Regions from separate parts of the Homo sapiens genome. Here region 2 is linked to region 1. Evidence: promoter capture Hi-C in 16 types of primary human blood cells and fetal thymus (Javierre and others, 2016). All regions are on one chromosome and are shown on one strand. The core of a region is centred on a gene start or on the middle of the fragment in contact, and the rest is flanking DNA. Distances in the headings are between cores, read along the strand shown. Region 1 holds the start of MROH6 (maestro heat like repeat family member 6). Region 2 holds the start of PUF60 (poly(U) binding splicing factor 60).

Region 1 (3,171 bases), core at 563-3,062:
TACGGCTTAGGCTGCGCCAGAGCTCGGCTGCTACCCTGAGGGTTTGGAGGGGGCTGGTGTGAGACAAGAGATGGGTGGGTGTCCAGGGAATGTAGGGAGTCCCCAGCCAGGGTGGAGGCAGCCAGTAGGACTCCAGCAGGGGAGGGGCAGGAAACCCCTCCCATCTCCCCCCATCCCCAAATCTCAGAGAAACAAATGAAGGGTTAATTGTGCAGACCACAACATAGCCTATCTCAAGCTGAGCTGCAGGGTGGGGACCCACTGGGAGTCCCGTTGGGTCAGCGACAGTGAAACAAACCTGGCATTATTAAAAAGAAAAAAATTGCCACAGAGAATAAAACCAAAGATAACTTCTGGGGCCAATTAACCAAAGAGCCAGGGGTGTCCAGGCACGTTAGCCCCCCAGCCTCATTCACCCCACTCCGGAGCCAACCCCAGGACGGTCTCCAGGGGAGGCCACCCGAAGATAGAAGGTGGCTCCAAGAGAGGAGCCCAGCATCAGAAACTCTGTGGCAGGAGTGTGGGGGGAGTTTGCGGAGCTAAAAATGAGGGGAGCGGGAATGGATACGGGGCATGAGTCATCGCGGGGCTGGAATAAGGAGGCCCTGCCCCTTTTCAGCTCCCTCTTCTGGGGCCAGACTCCACCGCCAAGCGGGAAGAGGGAAGGAAGCCGCGTGGGGACCGCAGGGCCAGGACGGTTGGGTTACCGATCGGCGGGCAGAGAGCGGGGTAGCAGCGCACACACCACGTCCCGCGCATGCTCCAGGGCCAGTGCGCTCAGCACTCGCAGGGCCGCCCTCCAGGGCCTCCCCTCCGCTAGGCTGGGCACCTGCGCCAGCAGCCCACGCACCAGAGCATGCACCTGGTGGGGAAGGGGGCAGACTTCAGCAGTCAGGCCTCCTCCACCGTCCATTCCCCTCTGGCCTGCACCCCACCTCCACCCCCACCCTGATCCCGCCTGGCAGGAGCAGCCTGAAGATGGCAGGGTCAGGCTGCGCTCTCCAGGCCCCTCCCACCACCTTGGTGCCCGAACCGGCAGGATTCTGTAGGGCATGAAGTGGGTGAAGGCTGACCTGGTCCTCCAACCGCTCGCCCCGGGCCTCCAGGGCTGAGGACAGGGTGAGCACTGTCGCCTGGGTCCCTGCAAAGCCAGCCTCCTCCAGGCAGGCAGCCGTGTACAACGCGAGGTCGGCAAGAACTCCCTCCTCCCAGGAACTCTGGGGAACCTAGGGCAGGATGGGTGGGGCGTCTGAAGTGCCCAAACCTCTCCTAGCTCTCCTCCTGGTCCCTCGGCCTCCCACCTGGCTTCCTACAAAATCCCTTGCTCCTCTGTTGCTCACCAGCCTGTTTCACGCTGACCTCCCCCGGGGCCAGCACCGCCCCCCTGCCACCCCGCCTTCCACCTACCATCCACAGGACCCCCAGGCCGGTTCGCACAACATCCCTTCCCTCCCCCGTCACCTGGTGGGGCCCCTCAGGGGCTGGTTCCAGGGCACTGTTGAGGGAGCAGGGCTCGCTGCCAGCTTCAGGGACGGTGGCCCCACGTCCAGGCTCTGCCTCAGAGGGGGCGGTGAGTGCCTGGGTCTGTGGCTCAGCCTCAGGTTTGACCTCCCAGGACTTGGGCTGAGGGCCTGCGGAAGGGGGTCCCTGGGGCTGCCCCTGCCTGGCCCGGATTCCTTCAGTCAGTGCTGTCAGGGTTAGAGCCCCCACGGGAGCCTCCCGGGCCCGGCTCCGGCCCCACACACCCCCAGCCATGGCGGCCCTTGCCTGCAGCACCTGCCGCTGCTCCTCCTGCGAAGTTGTGCCCAGGACTGACCTAGAAGCCGCCCCGGGCGGGACCACGGACGGGCGTGGTGGCGTGCGCTAGCGTGAGCTTGCGGGGGCTGGGGAGCCACACGGACGTGCCTACAATGGGCCTTTGAGGGGCCCTCCTGCCTGGGCTGCTGGAGGGGAGTGGCCACCTGCAGCCTGAGTGCCTGTGGTGTGGCTCTACCCACCAGGGCCCTGAGAACAGGATCCCCAAGAGCTGGCAGATCCACGAAGAAAGGGGGAGAAGGGCCCCCACCCTGACTACCAGCCCCTGTTGACCAGGGAGCTCAGGGCAGTTGTGGACAGCTCTGAGGAGGTCCTCGCAGGGTCCAGGAGTCTGGGCCCCACCCTGAGTCGAGGCCTGATTCAGCCCCCAAGCAGCAGTCAGCTCCCCACTGGGCCTGGGGCTAGGGGCTGGCCCCGCCCCCTGCACGCTGGCTCCGCCCCCTGCACGCTGGCTCTGTCAGACACCTTGCAACAGGCATGACTGGGTGAGCTTGGGGCAGCCCGGAGGTGTGGAGGGGGCAGTGAAGACACCAGAGGAGCGGTGGCCCCTCCAGAGCTTGTGCAGGCCCCTCTGGGTCCTGGGTCCTTGGCCAAATCTCATGTTGAAACGTAATCCCCAGTGCTGGAGGTGGGGCCTGGTGGGAAGTGATTGGATCCTGGGGGCAACTTCCCCCTTTGGTGCTGTTCCCATGATAAGACTTCTCAAGATCTGGTTGTCTGGAAGTGCGTGGCACCGCCCCACCCCTTCCTCCGGCCATGTAAGACCTGCCCGCTTCCGCTTCCACCAAGATGGTAAGTTTCCTGAAGCCTCCCCAGCCATGCTTCCTGTACCTGCAGAACCACAGGCCAATTAAACCTCTCTTCCTTAGAAATTACCCAGTCTCAGGTATTTCTTTACAGCAGTGCAAGAACGGAAGAATACAGCCACTCTGGCTGGGCCCCTCGGAGTGCGCGGGTGCCCTGGGGGTGCCTGGGGTGTGGTGTGTTCTGTCCAATGTGTGTGAGTCTGTATCTCTCTCCTAGCTCGTACTCCCCGGGGCTGGCTGGACTGGGCCTCTGCTCCAAGTCCCCACCCTCCACCCTCAGCCAACCACACAGTGGTGCTGCCCACCCTGAAGCCCGGGGAGCCAGGTGAGCTGGTCTGGTGGAATGCCTGGGCAGACGGAAGTGCCCCAGGCGGTCAGCATTCCCCCCACACCCTTGCCTGTCTGTGCCACCTCAGGCTGCTTCGACAAGAGAGGCCCAGGCCCCCAGCCTCCACTTCCTGCCAAGCCTAGAACCTCTCCCCCAAGCAGTTCCTCTTGAAGCTCACGTTGCCCAAACTGGCGGAACCCTGAGATCAGGAACTTGCTGGTG
Region 2 (4,119 bases), core at 866-3,365, 260 kb after region 1:
GCTATGAGCTATGCCAGGCCATGGCAGCCGGGGGCCTCTCTATGAGGTGACATTGCAGGCTGGGGCCTACAGAAGAAAGGAACTGGAACCCCAAGGGTGATGACCCCAAATGAGAGCTGGTCTGGCTGTCAGTGAAGAGAACGGAGCCATGCGTCAAAGTGAAAAGATGCATCCAGAAGACCTACCCTTGCTGCAAAGAGGCAGCCGGCCTCATTCTGCAGCCACCAGGCAGAAGGCATGCCCATGGGAGGGGAGGCCCTTCTGCATCTTCTGGCTTCCTTCCCCACCAGGCCACTGTCAGCCAAGTTCAGCTGCTCCATTCAACCTCCCATGAGAGCTGAAGCAGCATGAGACAGGGGACAGGCTCTCATCACTGTGCCCAACCAGGACGGTGGGAACAGATAACCCTTCTAGAAGCCTTTCCATCCCAATGATTAAAAGAGGAATGGGTTAGACCACAGGCTACAGCTCACTCCTGGAGCCGGATGCAAGCCTGAAACCTGACGATAAAAAAACACGTATTAAACCCAACAGAATTTGGATGGCAACAAACACCCCAACAGACAACCCGTTCGTGGGGTCAGTTATGGCCCACGTCCAACTCAACAATGACACCACCTATCTGGCACCACGCCACAGCAGACCTGAGCCCCCATTTAACCCTCATGAGCACAGGGCGCTGTTCTGCGGGTGCTAGGGGAGTCAGGCATCCACTCTCCTCCTCCACCTTCCCATGTCCAGTCCTTGTCTCTGAGCCTCCTCCTCCTTCACCATCAACTCTCTGACTGCTGCCTGAAGACAGTCACCAGGTCCTCAACCCTTACATCCTTTCTCTCTGGAGTGCCCCTCAAAGGTCACTTACTCCTGTGGCTTCAAGAGAAAGGACATAGTAGAAAGAGTGGAGTTAGCCAGTCCTGTGAATCACACACTGGGCTGCCCTCGCAAGCTGGGTATCTTGTGTAAATGCCTCTCTCCCCCTAGTAACTGGTTTCTGCCTCAGTGGGACATGGGACCAGCCCGCCCGCTGGGGGCCTGGCAATGGCAGTCTAAGGACACTCCCTGGTCCTGCCAGTCCAGCCTTCAGCCATTTGCCCAAGCTGTCTTCTCAAACAGACCTTATCCCATCCCGCTGGGTGTGGGCTGGGGGAAGGGTGACAAGTAATACAGGGGTAAACTGCGGCTGAGAAAGGTCCAAAAGGGGATTAGGTCCTATAAGCTAAGTGGTGAGAAGGAAAGACCAGACTTCATCGTGCATGTGTTGTGTGCATGGGTGTTCTCCCTCTACGTTAATAACGCCTGCCCTGCCCGGGGAAGTGGGCACTGAGCAGAGCAGGGGGCGACTCACTCCTCTGGATGCCCACGCAGCTCCCTAGGGCGCCCAGCAAATGGCACCCTGGGTGGGAACTGGCTTCTGGTGCGCACTAGACCTCCAACTGCCTGTCTGGTTCCCCACTGCGTCCCCAGATCCTCCCGCAGAGCTGGGGACAATGCGATTTCTCAAAACACGTAGGATGAGAGCGCACGTCCTTCCTTTCCACGTGGAGACAAGAGAATGGAGATAACCAGATCCCTCTCCAGCACCGGAGAACGAATTCACAGCTGCAGGCGTAGTGAGCCAAGGCCGCCCCATGCTCTGAGCTGCAGGCCCCTTTCTACAGGTCCCGTCCCCTTCTGATCCCATCAACCCGAAGGCCCACGCGTCACCCCCAGAACCCCGCTTCCGTCGTGACCACGGCGCACACCCCCGTCGGCAAAGGGAGGACGACGACCCCCGCTTGCCGGACCTAGCGGACAGGAACGCAACCCCGCCAGGCTCGCCCGCAAGGGCCACACGCCGCGCCCAGGCCCCCGCCCCGCCCCGCCGGAAGCTGGGGTCCGCAGGCCGGAAGCTGAGGCCGCGAGCCGGCCGCCGGCGCGCGCCCGCCCCGCCCCCGCCTCACGCGACCCGGGGACACGAGGGAGTCCGCGCGGGACCTGGGAAGACCGCCGCGTTCTTGGGAGGCCCTCCGCGCCCAGGCTGGGTCGACGACCCGGCCCCGCAAGCCGAGGGCCGCCCGCGCTCATGGGGGGGCTCACTTACGAGAGCTATGGTCGCCGTCGCCATCTTGCGTCCGTCGCGGCCTCCGCGCGCGCCTCCCACTCTTGCTCCTTCCGCTGTCTCGCGCGATCTGGGTGCCGGTGCACGGAACTCTCGCGAGGAAGGAGGTAAGAACGCGCTTCCGGGGCGGGGAGGAACGGTAAACGCCCCCGGGAGGGGCGACGGAAGGGGCGTGCTCTTGGCCGGGCGAGGGGCGTGGCCCGCGCACCTCGGGCGTCTAGGGGCGTGCGCCGCGGGACTCGAGTCGGGCGTATCTCTCCGCGTGGCCGACGCGGGCGTGCGTAGTACCCTTCGCCGCCCGTCGCCCTTGCGGCCACTGCTACGCTTCTCTTCTCTGCCTTTTTTGGAGAAAACGCTGTCGCGTGCGTCGTCCAGAGGCTCTCCCCCAGGAGGCAGGCGAAAGAGCGGGGCCCTCCTGGGCTGGAGGAGTCTCGGGTGATGAAAGGCCCGCGTGTTTCAGGCTGACGTCGTGAGATGCGTCGTCCCCGCGTCGCGACATCCCTGGGACCGGGAGGCCCCGTTCAATTGGCAGCTTTTTCTCCTTCCAGGGAACCGATGACCCTAGGTTGGCTGACATCAGTCGCTAGACCCGCAGCCCGCAGGCCCCGTTAGTCCCTGAACTGGCTTTCATGGCCCAAGGTGTCTGTCAGTACTGCTGGGAAAGCTGCCTGTCCTGGACATTTGCCATCTGCTGCACCCAGTCCCGAGACCCCAACTCGGTCATCCGAAGAAGCCACATCTGTAAGCTCAGGCACCTTCAGCTGCCTAAGGCCACAAGGCATCCCGGGCAGGCCTCCTTTCAACCCTGGGAACATTTAGAATTTAATACAGACACTTCTACTTAAATAGGGCAGAATATTCCCCGCCTCCCTCCTGAAACCTTCCAAAATTATAGGAAAGGGGTTTTATAAAGACAAACCCTGCAAGGGCAAAGAGCTGGGATATTGCAGAGCTTAAGAAAGGTGGACAGCGAGAGCTACTCCAGCCCACTTGGCTATGGAGGCCAGTGTCTGAGGGTCGTGGGTGAAAGCACAGCTACAGAAAGGAAACCCCAGACCTCTGTCCCTACCCACCGGGGCTGGCAGGCACTGCAGTGTCTGAGACGTGAGCTCCAGGAGAGGAGCTCTGAGGCCCTGCTCAAGCAAGGCCCTGTCTGAAAGCCTGGGAGTAAGTGAGACTCTGGGTCCTACCCCTGCCTCCACCCCTGGGCTGGGTCTGACCACCCGCATGCCATCAGGCTTCTCAGAGAAGAGGGCTCCTCTCTGCAGCAGCTCCTAGCTCAAAAGAAAAGACTGGCAGGGCACCTAGGGGTAGAGTGTTGCCCAGTAGAATGGCCCAGCCAGATCCCTGGCCTCGAAGCTCACCAGGTCATAAGCCCCAGCCACTAAAAGCATCTCACTCTTCAATGCAGCTGGACAGCCCAGGATCACCAGACACCTGAGAAAGAAGAAAAGGGACTCAGAAGAAACAGAGACGATAAAGGAAGCCGAAGAAAAATGAAAACTAAAATGCCATTCTCAGTCAATAAAAAGGAACTGGGGGCTATAGAGAAAGAAACCTCGGGATGAGAAAGAGCTCTTAGAAATAAAACATGAGGGGAAAGTGAGCAATTCAATAGGCTTTTAAGATGAAGTCTTCCAGAATGTATAATGACAGAACCAGATAGCTGGAAAACAGAATAGCAGTAACACAGGTGGGTGCTCTTAGGGCTAGCCTGGCACACAAGGCCTCCACAATGGAGGGGGTGGATGGGAGGTGGGGGGCTGGTCTGCCACCACCACCAGGGGAAGCCACAGGCACCACCCTCTGGGGACAGCTTCCCTTGGCAATAATGTGCACGCAGGATGCATGGTGCCCAGGACTGTTCTTACACACATTCATTCATGGGATCCTCACAACCCAGTGCTATGCAATGGATACAGCTGTTACCCCATTTTTACTGATGGGCAACATCACAAGGCAGGGAGCAGCAGTAGAATGGCTCCAGAGCCTGTGTTCTTGCCACCACCATGACTGCATCT

What was found. The method cuts DNA at HindIII sites, captures the fragments that hold promoters and counts their contacts. A CHiCAGO score of 5 or more calls a contact.
Region 2: a contact is called between the fragment with the promoter of PUF60 here and the fragment with the promoter of MROH6 in region 1, in 7 of 17 cell types (erythroblasts, neutrophils, naive CD8 T cells and 4 more). The highest score is 10.8, in erythroblasts.

Annotation. Positions count from the first base shown.
Region 1 is chr8:143,570,960-143,574,130 of GRCh38, forward strand. It overlaps MROH6 (maestro heat like repeat family member 6), which reads right to left and starts at 1,813. Exons shown (of 14, transcript NM_001100878.2): 1 at 1,462-1,813; 2 at 1,074-1,226; 3 at 708-862; 4 at 1-35. The coding sequence starts at 1,755. It also overlaps a transcript of NAPRT not described here. RefSeq lists an enhancer at 322-1,171. The HindIII fragment of the contact is 15,945 bases long and covers 1-3,171 here.
Region 2 is chr8:143,827,200-143,831,318 of GRCh38, forward strand. It overlaps PUF60 (poly(U) binding splicing factor 60), which reads right to left and starts at 2,116. Exons shown (of 12, transcript NM_078480.3): 1 at 2,081-2,116. The coding sequence starts at 2,104. LOC107986985 (a long non-coding RNA gene) reads left to right here and starts at 2,081. Exons shown (of 3, transcript XR_001746138.2): 1 at 2,081-2,205; 2 at 2,647-2,839; 3 at 3,510-4,119. It also overlaps a transcript of NRBP2 not described here. RefSeq lists a silencer at 1,834-2,403 and enhancers at 2,188-2,887, 2,208-3,407. The HindIII fragment of the contact is 7,973 bases long and covers 1-4,119 here.